5 separate regions of the Homo sapiens genome follow, and all the other regions are linked to region 1. The links are contacts of gene promoters, found by promoter capture Hi-C in blood cells and fetal thymus (Javierre and others, 2016). All regions are on one chromosome and are shown on one strand. Each heading gives the region's core, a stretch centred on a gene start or on the middle of the fragment in contact. The rest is flanking DNA. Distances are from core to core; before and after follow the strand shown. Region 1 holds the start of SNX12 (sorting nexin 12). Region 2 overlaps TAF1 (TATA-box binding protein associated factor 1). Region 3 overlaps OGT (O-linked N-acetylglucosamine (GlcNAc) transferase). Region 4 has its middle 27 kb from the start of TAF1. Region 5 has its middle 4.6 kb from the start of OGT.

The links. Contacts are between HindIII fragments. The CHiCAGO score rates a contact against its expected background, and 5 or more counts as called.
Region 2: a contact is called between a fragment that was not itself captured here and the fragment with the promoter of SNX12 in region 1, in 2 of 17 cell types (non-activated CD4 T cells and naive B cells). The highest score is 5.4, in non-activated CD4 T cells.
Region 3: a fragment that was not itself captured here is called in contact with the fragment with the promoter of SNX12 in region 1 in 3 of 17 cell types (neutrophils, naive B cells and total B cells); the score reaches 8.2 in neutrophils.
Region 4: a contact is called between a fragment that was not itself captured here and the fragment with the promoter of SNX12 in region 1, in 1 of 17 cell types (non-activated CD4 T cells). The highest score is 5.3, in non-activated CD4 T cells.
Region 5: a contact is called between a fragment that was not itself captured here and the fragment with the promoter of SNX12 in region 1, in 1 of 17 cell types (fetal thymus). The highest score is 5.9, in fetal thymus.

Annotation. Positions count from the first base shown.
Region 1 is chrX:71,067,036-71,069,735 of GRCh38, reverse strand. SNX12 (sorting nexin 12) reads left to right here and starts at 1,402. Exons shown (of 4, transcript NM_013346.4): 1 at 1,402-1,594. The coding sequence starts at 1,430. RefSeq lists silencers at 1,187-1,406, 1,246-1,439. The HindIII fragment of the contact is 9,631 bases long and covers 1-2,700 here.
Region 2 is chrX:71,390,872-71,393,575 of GRCh38, reverse strand. It overlaps TAF1 (TATA-box binding protein associated factor 1), which reads right to left. Exons shown (of 38, transcript NM_004606.5): 19 at 858-1,007; 20 at 582-701; 21 at 100-275. Among named protein-coding and RNA genes, the nearest start is that of TAF1, 26 kb to the right of the region's middle. The HindIII fragment of the contact is 3,497 bases long and covers 1-2,704 here.
Region 3 is chrX:71,546,919-71,549,618 of GRCh38, reverse strand. OGT (O-linked N-acetylglucosamine (GlcNAc) transferase) reads right to left here. Exons shown (of 22, transcript NM_181672.3): 5 at 1,596-1,712. Among named protein-coding and RNA genes, the nearest start is that of OGT, 15 kb to the right of the region's middle. The HindIII fragment of the contact is 3,213 bases long and covers 1-2,700 here.
Region 4 is chrX:71,337,941-71,340,640 of GRCh38, reverse strand. No RefSeq gene overlaps it. Among named protein-coding and RNA genes, the nearest start is that of TAF1, 27 kb to the left of the region's middle. RefSeq lists an enhancer at 1-7. The HindIII fragment of the contact is 9,485 bases long and covers 1-2,700 here.
Region 5 is chrX:71,527,172-71,529,871 of GRCh38, reverse strand. It overlaps a transcript of TAF1 not described here and the pseudogene SOCS6P1. Among named protein-coding and RNA genes, the nearest start is that of OGT, 4.6 kb to the left of the region's middle. The HindIII fragment of the contact is 656 bases long and covers 1,065-1,720 here.

The sequences.
Region 1 (2,700 bases), core at 153-2,652:
CTCTTGACCTCAAGTGATCTGCCTGCCTCGGCCTCCCAAAGTGCTGGGATTACAGGTGTGAGCCACCGCGCCCGGCCTGCATATGCTGTTTCTTATTCCAGAAATTACCTTTCCCTATTTCCACTCCTATTTGTCCTTTATGTCTTTTCATGTCTGTTAAACTCAGATGTTTCCTCCTCCAGGGGAACCTCCCCTAATTTTTCCAGTTATACATTTCCTATGTGCTGCTTTGAACATTTACTTATTTTGTATTTGTCGCATTATATTAGTTTTGTTTACTTGTCTCCCTTGCTAGAATGTTAACTCCTTGAGGGCAGGGACTCTTATTTAACTCCAGGATTTTAGTGTTTAGCATGGTGCTTGGCACGTATTTGCTTAGTGGATATTGGTTAAATTGAATTAAACAGCAATTGTGAAATTGTAGGGCCTCATACTCTGTTGAAAGAATTTCAGGCATCAGTGATATGGGAAATATTTTTTGAGTAGAGGAGGGCAGGGGAAAGGTGGAGAAAGGATGACCTGAAATCATCACCCAGTCTACCCTTTAATGTGGAGCATATGTAAATTAGTCATATAAATATTAATATTTCTATAGATATTCTCATGTAAACATTTATTCTATCTCCATTATGGGTTGCAAGCAACCTCAGAGCAGTGCCAAGTATGGAGTTCTGCGGAGTAGAAATAGAAGGTATGAAATAAGTACCCTCAATTTGCTGATAAATGTAAGATTGAGTACACCTGGAGTGTGGCAACAAGGAGTAAGATATGCCCAATTTTCCTGAAAAGTAAGAGAGAAATGTCTTTCTTTACCCCATCCTAGTTGCTTGCTGCTTTCCTGGCGCCATACGTAGTGCTGAGTGCGCCATTGTGTGTGGCGTGAACTGAAACCATCAGTGGCACAGGTGGGACGGCTACGTTATAGGTTCTCAGTACTATTGTTGGAACCCCACCCTCCATAGACCACCCTTCTATTTTCGCGGAAAACCAGGACTTATTCAGGTCACTGGGCTTCGGCCTATCACTGTAGGAGCCTGGCTCACGGGGCAGTGCCCACTGTTGATTGATACACGGTACGAGACAATTTCTTGGGTTGAGGAGCCGCGATTGGCGGAGCCAGCCTGTGCTGCTAGGCAGGGTATTGGGTACTGCGTATTGGGGATGCAGGTTCCCGGGTGGCCACAAACATCACCCGGAAGCCTGAATATGGCCTCCACTCTACAGGGCGCGCAGCAGTCAGCACGGCCGCTATTCAGAGCCCGGGGCCCAGGCCCGTGCGGCGTGCGCGTGCGTGCGTGGGCGCGCGTGCGCGCCGCCGCCGCCTGTGGGTTGGCTAGTTATTTTGCAAGCGGGAGGGGCCGTGCGCGCTCCTGCCTCAGGCCTCTGTCCCCCACCCCCTTTCCCCGGTCCCAGGCTCTCCTTCGGAAAGATGTCGGACACGGCAGTAGCTGATACCCGGCGCCTTAACTCGAAGCCGCAGGACCTGACCGACGCTTACGGGCCGCCAAGTAACTTCCTGGAGATCGACATCTTTAATCCTCAGACGGTGGGCGTGGGACGCGCGCGCTTCACCACCTATGAGGTTCGCATGCGGGTGAGTCACGGGGTGAGGGAGACAGCTGAGGGAGGACCGGGCGGCGCGAGCGGGAGGGGGGAGGGAGGCTACCGCGGGGGCAACTAACGGCGGGGAAGACGCCTTAGGGGTCATTTGGGGGTTAGGGGTATAATAGGCTTGGAACGAGGTCTGCCGATTCAGTTGTGGCCGGAGGATGCAGAAAACTCCTGAGGGAGACATCGGACGGGGATGCAGGAAAGCTACCCATGAGGAAGTGAAGCATGGCTGGATAGGGTGGGGTGGATGGAAAAAGATTAGAGTGAGGAATTCAAGGAGATAGGAATCACGGCTGTAGCGACTGAAGGAAGGGAGGGAGGATGGAAGAGGGCTGGGGGATGGAAAGCCAAGGCGATATATCGCTGAGCTCCATAACTAAACTAGGTTGTGAGAAGTCTGAAGAGGGAGGGCAGGAAGGCCGGCTGCTTTCTAATGAGGTCTCCCTGGGATAATGGAGTAAAGCAAAGCCTTGAATTAAAGGGAAGGTAGATTCCAGAAAAGGCAGACAGTAGGCTTGTGGGAGCAGAAATAAGAAAGGGAGTCTCCTTGAGACCGAGCGCTTTCCTAACTTGTGTCGGATCAGCATCTGAAGGAGAGAAATGTTTTATGCTTAAGTTTTCGCAGATACTACGTGCTGTCTCGCCTTGAAACCTGGCCTGGCCCTGGGATTGGTGCCTTGTCAGTCACTGCTTTCATTCTATGTGGATCCTTTAGATTTGAAGTATCCAGAATGTTTATTTCAGTATTTATTGACTCTCGTTTAGGTACTTTGTATATGAATGGCTTTTTGCCCTTTCTGTCCTAGATTACCCTTTTGGATTCTGACCCTGGTCTGTAGTTACTTTAATACATGACATTTCAGAATTGCCCAGGAGTGGCTTCTTCCAGCATGCATGATAGAGGACTTTACTCTCTAGTGCTTAGCCCATAATGCAAGGATGGAATGTGCAGATAGAGTACTTGGTTTGCAGGATCTTTTGCCCACTTGAAGTGGTTATAGGCAAAACAGTTTGAGAATCATTTTCTAGTTTTCCTTATGTTTTCTTCTCAGACTAAAAGGCCAGAATATTCTCTGTGGACAGCATCCT
Region 2 (2,704 bases), core at 143-2,642, 320 kb before region 1:
TAGTCAAACTTTTAGGTGACCTCCTCTTTATTATGAAATAGTGCCTGGAACTCCTCCCCCTTTCCAGCTTGGATTTTCTGCAGCACTAAAACGACCCACTTGTTCTGTAGGTCAAAGATGCGCTGACATTCCTCTTTGTAACGCTCTTGATGCTCAGCCACAGAAAACCTTGATCCACGGGCAAATTTACTCATGGGCCCCTCTCCAGAACGAGCCTGTTCTGTTGACATTGTGCGCACCACATCAATCACTTCCCAGCGGGACAACTTTTTAATCTACGAGACAAATAGCCACACACAAATATAAATATACACACACACACACACACACACACACACACACACACACACAAATCATTCAGGGATTTCAAAGGACAAGCCAATGTACACAGTTAGACCAAAAAAGAAAAATCACCCCAAAGCAGATTACATAGAAAGATAACTCCTAAAACAATATCTAAGACTTAGCTTACTATACCCTACAATAAAGTTCCCCAGATAGTTCTTTACATCTGCCTCCTAGCAATTCCAACTCTATACAAAGCCCCTAGTATACTCTAAATTTTCCACTTCCACACTCACCTCTTCCTCAGGCACACCAAATTTACGTAGAAGTTGCTTGGCATTTTTCAGGGAAAGGCGACGAAGGTCTGCATCTGTTCCTGTCACTGTCTTCTTCACTGGCTGCGGTTCTTTATCATCCTACCTCAAACAAAAAAAAGTGAGACTCCTAAAAACCTGAATTCCTTTTAAGTAGGCATCTAAGTCATTCTGCTACCTTAACTACATTCCAAGTCCTCCACTCACCCATTTCTTTCTCCCTTGACTTTTTCATTCTAGAAATAAACACAATCTCACCTTCTGCTGTGTTGGTTTGTTTGGAATCTTCACATAGGAGAATCCTTCACCACACCCCGTGGGATCTGCCACCCCAGTCACCTCTAGCAGACACTTGCCCTTCATGGCAGCAATGAAGGCCCTTGTGGTGTTCCAAGGGGCAGTGCGAACCTGAGATAAAGAAAAAGATTCTCAGGGCAGTGGGAAACATTTGTTCTATGTCTAGCCAATATCTACAAGAGTAGAATAATTACAAACTATTTTCATGTTCTTTTTTTCTAATTTTTAATTTCTGTGGGTTCATGCTCTCTTAAACTGTCCACAAAAATCAACAGTTAAATATAGCTACCTAGTACTCAGTTCTCTTCTATCCTATGGTACAATACTTACAACATGATATTAAATAGAGGTCAAGAGCTCAGGCAGGATAAGGAGAAAAATAAAGAACAGTGGTATCCCTTCAGCCCCTTATCCCTTGGGCTTCAATAAACATTCTTAAGGACAGTGTTTCCCTCACCCTCATGATGCTCAAAATTAGACTAATGACTACATTTGATTGTCCAATTGCTCAAACAGCTGTTTTAGAATGAAACCTATTTTCTCGAAATACTTGACATGCTTGCTTTCAAAGCATTGGCCCCTTTTCCAGTGACACTAAACCAAAGTCCATTCTATTTCTGCCACTGGTTTGGTCAAAAAGGTCTGTCCTCTCCTGGGACCCTGAATAGTGTTTACCAACCCCTGCAAGATTCTTAAAGAATTAAGCCAAGGGGTGAATGTGCCTGCCCACACAGACCAGTCAGGAGTACATGAGGCCAGGTGTGGTGACTCACACCTGTAATCCCAACACTCTGGGAGGCTGAGGCGGGCAGATCTCTTGAGGCCAGGAGTTCAAGACCAGCCTGGCCAACATGGTGAAACCCCATCTCTACTAAAAGTACAAAAATTAGCCAGGCGTGGTGGCGCACACCTATAGTCCCAGCTACTCAGAAGGCTGAGGCACGAGAATGGCTTGAACCCAGCAGGCAGAGGTTGCAGTCAGCAGACTGCACCACTGCACTCCAGCCTGGGAGACAGAGTGAGACTCTGTCTCAAAAAAAAAAAAAAAAAGAGTATATATGATTAGCAAGAAAATGGCCATTCTCTAAGGTTCAATCTGGAAAGCCATTCAACAGAATTCTTTTTTTATTTTTAATTTAAAAAAAATTGTTTTTCTTTTTTAGAGACAGGGTCTCACTATGTTGGCCAGGTTGGTCTTGAACCCTTGGCCTCAAGTAACCCTCCCACCTTGGCCTCCCCAAATGCTATGATTACAGGCCTGAGCCACTGCGCCTGGCCTCAAAAGAATTCTTAATTTCTGAAATTCTTAGATATCCACTCATTTTTCATTCCAACCTCAAGAGAGTAGTACAACGATTCTTTACTCACTCTGTGTGGCCTCATTTTCTGCTTCATTTTATAATCACTTAATTCATTTAACAAATATTTATTGAATACCAACTACACACTACTCCTCCATACTACTTTTTCATGAACCTCAAGTTAGTGAGGGAAAAACAGCCAACCAAGTTCAGTACTATGTGATCAGTGCCACGGGAAGAAAGTAGAGGCCAGGCACAGTGGTTCATGCCTATCATCCCAACACTTTAGAAGGCCAAGGCAGGACGATCGTTTGAGCCTAGGAGTTCAAAATCAGCCTGGGCAACACAGTAAGATCCCATTTCTTTCTTTCTTTTTTTTTTTTGAGATGGAGATTCGTTCTTTTAGTCCAGGCTGGACTACAATGGCGTGGTCTCAGCTCCCGGCAACCTCCACCTCCCAGGTTCAAGTGATTCTCCTGCCTCAGCCTCCCAAGTAGCTGGGATTAC
Region 3 (2,700 bases), core at 71-2,570, 480 kb before region 1:
AGACAGGGTCTTACTATGTTGCCCAGGCTGGTCTCAAACTACTAGGCTCAAGCAATCCTCCCACCTCAGCCTCGCAAAGTGCTGGATTACAGGTGTGAGCCACAGCACGCAGCCTAAAGTACATTTTCAACACAAAATTGGAAACTGCCATACCATGTACTATCCAGCAAATGCTGCAATAAAGATGTTTCTCAACTTAGGATGGGGTTATGTCCCGATACACCCATCATAAGTTGAAAATATCTTAAGTCAAAATGCATCTGTAACACTTAGTGAACATCCTAGCTTAGCCTAATTTTTTTTTTTTTTTTTTTTTTTTTTTTGAGACAGGGCCTCACTTTGTCACCCAGGCTGGAGTGCAGTGGTGCAATCTTGGTTCACTGCAACCTCCAGCTCCCAGGCCCAAGCAATCCTCCCACCTCAGCCCTACAAATGGCTGGGACTACAGGAGCACACTGCCACACCCAGCTCATTTTTGTAGAGACAGGGTCTCGTTATGTTGTCCAGGCTGGTTTTCAACTCCTAAGCTCAAGCAATCTGCCCGCCTCGGCCTCCCAAAGCACTGGGATCACAGATGTGAGCTATCACACCTGGCCCGGCTAGTCTCATTTTAAACATGCTCAGAACACATTAGCCTACGTTTAGGTAAAATTACCTAATACAAAGCCCTTTTTTAAAACTTTAATATGAGTTTTATTTTAATTCCAACATTTATTTTAGGTTTGGGGTACACATGCAGGTTTGTTAAATGGGTAAATTGTGTCACAGCAATTTGGTATACAAATGATTTTGTCACTCAGGTAGTGAACATAGTACCTGGTAAGTAGTTTTTGTACCCTCACACTCCTCCCACCCTCCACCCTCAAGTAAGCCCCACTGTCTATTGTTCCCCTTTGTGTCCATGTGTACCCAATGCTTAGCTCCCACTTGTGAGAACATGCAATATTTGGTTTTCTGTTCCTGCATTAATTCACTTAAGATAATAAACTCCAGCTGCATCCATGTTGCTGCAAAGGACATGATTTCATTTTTGATGGCTACATGGTATTCCATGGCATATATGTACATTTTCTTTAGCCCACCGTTGATGGGCATCTAGGTTGATTCCATGTCTTTGCTATTGTGAAGTGATGAACATACGCATGCATGTGTCTTTATGGTACCTTTTTATTTTTTAATCTTAGAGACAGGGTCTCACTCTGTCACTCAGGCTAAGTACAGTGGCATGGTCACAGCTCACTGCAGCCTCAAACTCCTGGGCTCAAGTGATCCTCCTGCCTCAGCCTCCTTCTTATTTTATAATAGTGTGTTGGGCATCTCATGTAATTTACTGAATCTTGTACTGAAAGGGAAAACCAGAATGGCTGCATGGGTACTCGAAGTATGATTTCTATTGAATATGTATGTCTTTTGCACCATTGTCAAGTTGAAAAAATATTTAAGTCAAATCATTGTTCTCTGTAAGTCACATACTGCCTATACCGCCAGAGAAACAAAGATATAATGTCACTGGCTAAGACCTATTATTTAGTTCTAGTAAAAACACTACATGCGTAAGCACTTCAAAAATACCAATTATTAATTTAATGACTAACCTTTTCAAAGTGATGAATTGCAAGCCAAATTTCCCCTTGTGCATTGAAAACACAGCCAAGATTACTCCAAGCTACTGCAAAGTTCGGTTGCGTCTCAATTGCTTTCAAATAACATGCCTTAGGAGGGGTTAATGAAAGAAGATGGGAGGGAAAGGAGGTAAAGGGAAAGGGGAAAATTTGTAAAGGGAAAAAAAAAAGATTGGGGGGAGGGGGGGAAGAAGGTGATATCATTATTCCTTCTCTGACCAGCCAAAAGTGACCCTGCAGCATAGGCTCGCTTGCGCCAAAACTAATGCGCTGCCACAGCTGGCTGCTCCTGCGCCTGCGCCACCAGAACCCAAGTGCAAACCACCATGTTCAGTTCTGCCAACCAAAGACCAACCCTTACACTGGGACTTAACTGGGAAGTCAGTTGCTATAAGGCTCTATGCTGGAGTTCTCTTATCCAAACAACTACGGGCCCTTGTCATGTTTTCAAGTGCTACCTAGAGGGCGCAACTTGAGGCCGAGTTTTCCTACCCCCACTGTTTCCCAAAGTGTGTTCTATGAGGTGTTAAGAGGTATGGCTGAAAAAAAAAGGAGTTCATGATCAAATAAATTCGGAAAATAGGTTTCTTTACTGGACTTCCCTAAGCCTTTAATAGTGTAACAGGGTTCCCTGAACTTAGTTGACCATGGAACTCTTCTTTCATTGGGCATTTTATTAGAATACTATGAAACACATTTTGGGAAATGCTGCTCTTCAACAATGTTCCTCACTAACATCAAAACTATGCTACTGAGGAGAAAAATGTCTTTCTGCCAAGTAGGATATCATAAAGCCAGGCTTTAAGTTACATTCTCACAATGCCCCGTCTCCCAAGGAGGACTGAAGCTGAAACCTCACATGACAGGATTGCACCTAGGTTGAGGTCCCTGTAATGCGAGCGCAAACATCGCTTGCGCAACCTAACAGCATCGCACTGCGCAATCGCTGCGAACTGCTGCGCTACATAGAACACCCCTAGACGCAGCAAACGGCCAACCAGATCCATTAATCTACTAGACAGGCCCATGGAGAATATTTGTTTAATGAGATTAGTTGGACTCGAGGTATGTTAAAACC
Region 4 (2,700 bases), core at 128-2,627, 270 kb before region 1:
TTTGTATGTATAGAAATATACATATACAGGGCGGGCGTGGTGGCTCGTGCCTACAATCCCAGCACTTTGGGAGGCCAAGGCGGGTGGATCACGAGGTCAGGAGTTCAAGACCAGCCTGGCCAAGATGGTGAAACCCTGTCTCTACTAAAAATACAAAAAATTAGCTGGGCACGGTGGCAGGCGCCTGTAATCCCAGCTACTTGGGAGGCTGAGGCAGGAGAATCGCTTGAATTTGGAGGGCGGAGGTTGCAGTGAGCCGAGATCATGCCACTGCACTCCAGCCTGGGTGACAGAGTGAGACTCCATCTCAAAAAGAAAAAAAAAAAAGAAATATATATACATATATTTAATTATATCTAAAACTATATATACGTATATAGTTTCAAAAGAAGATAGGTATATGTATATAGGTATACAGTTTCAAAAGAAGGAAGGTGTATGTATATAGTTTTAGAGACAGGGTCTCACTCTGTCACCCAGGCTGGAGTGTGGTGGTGCAATCATAGCTCACTGCAGCCTCGAACTCCGTGGCTCAAAATGATCCTCCTGCCTCAGCCTCCTGAGTAGCTGGGACTACAGGCATATGCCACCATATCTAATTTTTTAATTTTTTTTTTTTTTTGAGATGGAGTTTTGCTCTTGTTACCCAGGCTGGAGTGCAATGGCACAATCTTGGCTCACTGCAACCTCCGCCTCCCAGGTTCAAGCAATTCTCCTACCTCAGCCTCCTGAGCAGCTGTGATTACAGGCACCTGCCACTACGCCCGGATAATTTTTGTGTGTGTGTGTATTTTTAGTAGAGACGGGGTTTTACCATGTTGGCCAGGCTGGTCGTGAACTCCTGACCTCAGGTGATCCACCTGCCTCAGCCTCCCAAAGTGCTGTGATTACAAGCATGAGCCACCATGCCCGGCCATAATTTTTAAATTTTTTGTAGGGATAGGGCCTTACTATGTTGGCCAGGCTGGTCTTGAATTCCTGACCTCAAGCAATCCTCCTGCATTGGCCTCCCAAAGTGTTGGGATTATAGGCATGAACCACCACACCTAGCCAGAAAAAATACTCGAAGAAATAATGGCCAAAAACTTCTCAAATCTGAGAAAAGACACGAATATACATGTTCAACAGTTAAACTCCAAGCAGGATAAACAAAGAGATCCACATCAAGACACATTACAGTCAAATTGTTGAAAGCCAAAGACAAAGGGATATTTTTTTTTTTTTTTTTAGAGACAGGTCTCACTATGATATTGCCCAGGCTGGTCTTAAACTGCTGGCCTCAATTGATTCTCCCACCTCAGCCTCCCAAAGTGCTGAGATTATTGAGTGTGAGCCACTAGACTGGAAATACCACTAAGAAAAAAACCTTAACATATAGAGAAGGAAAGAAGAAGGGAATCAAAATGGTACACCACCAAAAAAACAACTAAATTTTTAAAAGGCAGTAATGGAAGAACTGAGGAACGAAACCCATACAAGACATAAAGAAACAAATAGATGGCCGGGCACGGTGGCTCACACCTGTAATCCCAGCACTTTGGGAGGCTGAGGCGGGCGGATCACGAGGTCAGGAGATAGAGACCATCCTGACTAACATGGTGAAACCCCATCTCTACTAAAAATACAAAAAATTAGCCGGGCGTGGTGGCGGGTGCCTGTGGTCCCAGCTACTCGGGAGGCTGAGGCAGGAGAATGGCGTGAACCCAGGAGGTGGAGCTTGCAGTGAGCCGAGACCACACCACTGCACTCCAGCCTGGGTGACAGAGCGAGACTCCATCTCAAAAAAAAAAAAAGAAACAAATAGATAAATGGCAAAAGTAAATCCCTCTTTATCAGTATTCACATTATGTATACATGGATTAAACTCTCCTAGTAAAAGGCAGAAATTAGCAGGTTAGATTTTTAAAAAGATCCATCTATATACTGTCCATAAGAGTCTCATGTTAGATATAAGGACACAAAGAGATTGAAAGTAAAAAGATTGGGAAAGATACTGCATGCAAATAGTAATCAAAAGAGAGCTGTGGTGACTACATTATTGTCAGACAAAATAGGCTTTACACCAAAAAAGTTTAGACAAAGGACATTAAATATTGATAAAAGGTTTATACAGCAAGAAGATATAACAATTATAAACATGTATACACCTGTCTTAGTCCATTTTGAGTTGCTATAACAGAATACTCAAGACTGAGTAATTTATAAACAAAAAAGGTATTTAGCTCACAGTTTTGTAGGCTGGGAAGTTTAAGGGCATGGCCCTGGCTTCTGGCAAGGGGTTTCATGCTACATCATAACATGGCAGAGAAGGTCAAAGTGGAAACAGACACCTGTGAACAAACAAAAGTTGAGGGGCATCCTGATTTTATAACAATCCATTTTCATGGAAATTAATCCATTCCAGCAAGAACTAATCCAGTCTCACCAGAGCAGGAACTCACTCACTACCATAAGAATGATACTAAGCCATTCAAGAGGGATCTCCATCCCCCTCCATGAGCCAAACACTAGGCCCCACCTCCCAACATGGCCACACTGATGATCAAATTTCAACATGAGTGTTGGTGGGGACCAAATCATAGCAGCACCTAATAACAGAGTTCCAAAATATATAAGCCAAAAATTGACAGAAATGAAGGGGAAAAATACTTCTACAATAATAGTTGGAGACCTCAATACCCCACTTTCAATAATGGCCAA
Region 5 (2,700 bases), core at 143-2,642, 460 kb before region 1:
AAGGTCCACTTCCCTCCACAATCCTCACTGTAGTCCTCTCCTTGGCTTACAAACTAAGGAGACACGTATCAAAACGGAGATGAGACGAAGAGACTCAAAGCCTTGGTTCATTCTTCCAATCCAAGTCTGGCACGGATTTTCACTATCTTCAGCCTGAAGCTGCATACAAAGAACAAAGTAAAGAGTTCAAAATTTCAGAATGGAGACTTGCATCTTCACTTCAAGGAACATGTGCCTGTACTTATTGGACTTATGCCTCAAGACTATATTCAGTATTCTATGCCTTTAGATGAGAGGCTTTATCCTTTGCAAGGGTGTCATGCTATTGTCTGGACAGTTCTCCCATGGAAGTGAGTGGTGAAGCCAGCTGGACTTCTGGGTTGGGTGGGGACTTGGAGAACTTTTGTGTCTTACAAGAAGATTGTAAAACGCACCAATCAGCACTCTGTGTTTAGCTAAAGGATTGTAAATGCACCAATCAGCACTCTGTAAAAATGCACCAGCCAGGTGCAGTGGCTCACACCTGTAATCCCAGCACTTTGGGAGGCTGAAGCAGGCAGATCATGAGGTCAGGAGATGGAGACCATCCTGGCTAACATGGTGAAACCCCGTCTCTACTAAAAATACAAAAAATTAGTCAGGCGTGGTGGCGGGCACCTGTAGTCCCAGCTACTTGGGAGGCTGAGGCATGAGAATGGCATGAACCCAGGAGGCGGAGGTTGCAGTGAGCTGAGATTGCACCACTGCACTCCAGCCTGGGCGACAGAGCGAGACTCTGTCTCAAAAAAAAAAACAAAAACAAAACGCACCAATCAGCGCTCTGTTTCTAGCTAAAGGATTGTAAATGCACCAATCAGCACTCTGTAAAATGCACCAATTAGCGCTCTGTGTCTAGCTAAAGAATTGTAAAAACACCAAAGAGCACTCTGTAAAATGGACCAATCAGCACTCTGTAAAATGGACCAATCAGCAGGATGTGGGCGGGGACAAATAAAGGAATAAATGCTGGCCGCCCCCAGCCCCACTGGCAACCTGCTTGGGTACCCTTTCACGCTATGGAAGCTTTGTTCTTTTGCTCTTCACAATAAATCTTGCTGCCGCTCACTCTTTGGGTCTGTGCTACCTTTAAAGAGCTGTAACACTCACCGCGAAGGTCCACGGCTTCATTCTTGAAGTCAGCAAGACCAAGAACCCACTGGAAGGAACCAACTCCGGACACAGATGTTTCTGGGAATTCTATCCCCAAAGCTGAGAATCGGGTAGAGCAGGACCTGGTCGTTGCTCCAGAGATCTTTGTGGATCCATCTCTGAATGGCTTGTTCATTGGTACCTGTAAGGAGTTACAATGCAGAGCCCAAGAGCAAGCCATGAAGACATTCCTGAAGACACTTTCATCATTACTACCTCCAATACAGAATCTAAAGGAACTTCTGTGGACTCACAGGTGCAGTTGTCTATGTGTGTGTCTGAAAGTACCCACTGTCATTTGAATTCTAATCCTGACTGTCCTCCTGGGGTTGCAAGAGTTGATGATTCTGTCCAAAGTAGTGACACTATGGTTGTGACAAGCCTTACAGAGGAGCTGAAAAAACCTGCAAAATAATAATGGTGCTGGGGGCAATCATACACTGACAGGCAGAAGAAAAGTGAGCAAATGTGCTAGATGGTTTTTTTCTTGTCCCAGATAGCCATAATGACTGTTATCTTTCAAGCTCAAGCTTTTGCTCCCATGGTAAAACACTTCACACTAGAATTGAACACTCGAATGGTAGGTTTTGCTTTTATGAGCAACCAGATGTGAAAGGACAATTAGTTGATCTAATTGAACATTCAACCAGGGACTCTGGAAAATAGAGTTTTTTCTTATTGAAGGTCTCGGTTACCTGGATCTGCAATTTACCCTGTAAGACTGACCAATCCAATACTACAATTCATACAGTTTTGTTCTTTGCAGCACCCATGACATTTGTTTTATGTCAGCATACCAGAATAGACTTATTTCAAAAACTGCCTTTGCCAAACAAAATGAAGGCTTATTTACAGGAGAAGCATTGCTAAAGGATTATGAAAACCCTGCATCTTGCACTTTGGAATCAAGAAAAAGAGACTGAAATACAGTTTTACAAACTTTCGTTGCTATCAATTTTGATGCCATAACTGTTTCAGTTTTATGTGTAAAAGAGTAATCAATTTGTTGAGAGGTGGGGAAGTGTTGGCAAGGTGTCTTGAGTTTATTTTGGTCCTTTAAAAAGTAAAGTCTTGAGTTCTTAGAAGTGTGAATTATCTTTATCAATTTCCAAAATAATTACAATAGGAATTCTCAGATTCTCCTTAATCTGCCGCAACTCCTCCTCCACTGCTACTCCCACTCCTTTGCTGCTGTCCACTATGATTTTTATGTATTGAAAGCACATTTCATATGTATTCAATCCCAAGTAAAGTAAAGTTGAATGAAATTTTTCTTTTCTTTTTTTTTTTTTTTTTTGAGACGGAGTTTGGCTCCTGTTGCCCAGGTTGGAGTGCAGTGGCACGATCTCACCTTGCTGCAACCTCCGCCTCTCAGGTTCAAGCAATTCTCCTGCCTCAGACTCCCGAGTAGCTGGGATTACAGGCACGTGCCACCACACCCAGCTAATTTTTGTATTTTTAGTAGAGACGGGGTTTCGCTATGTTGGCCAAGCTGGTCTCAAAGTCCTAACC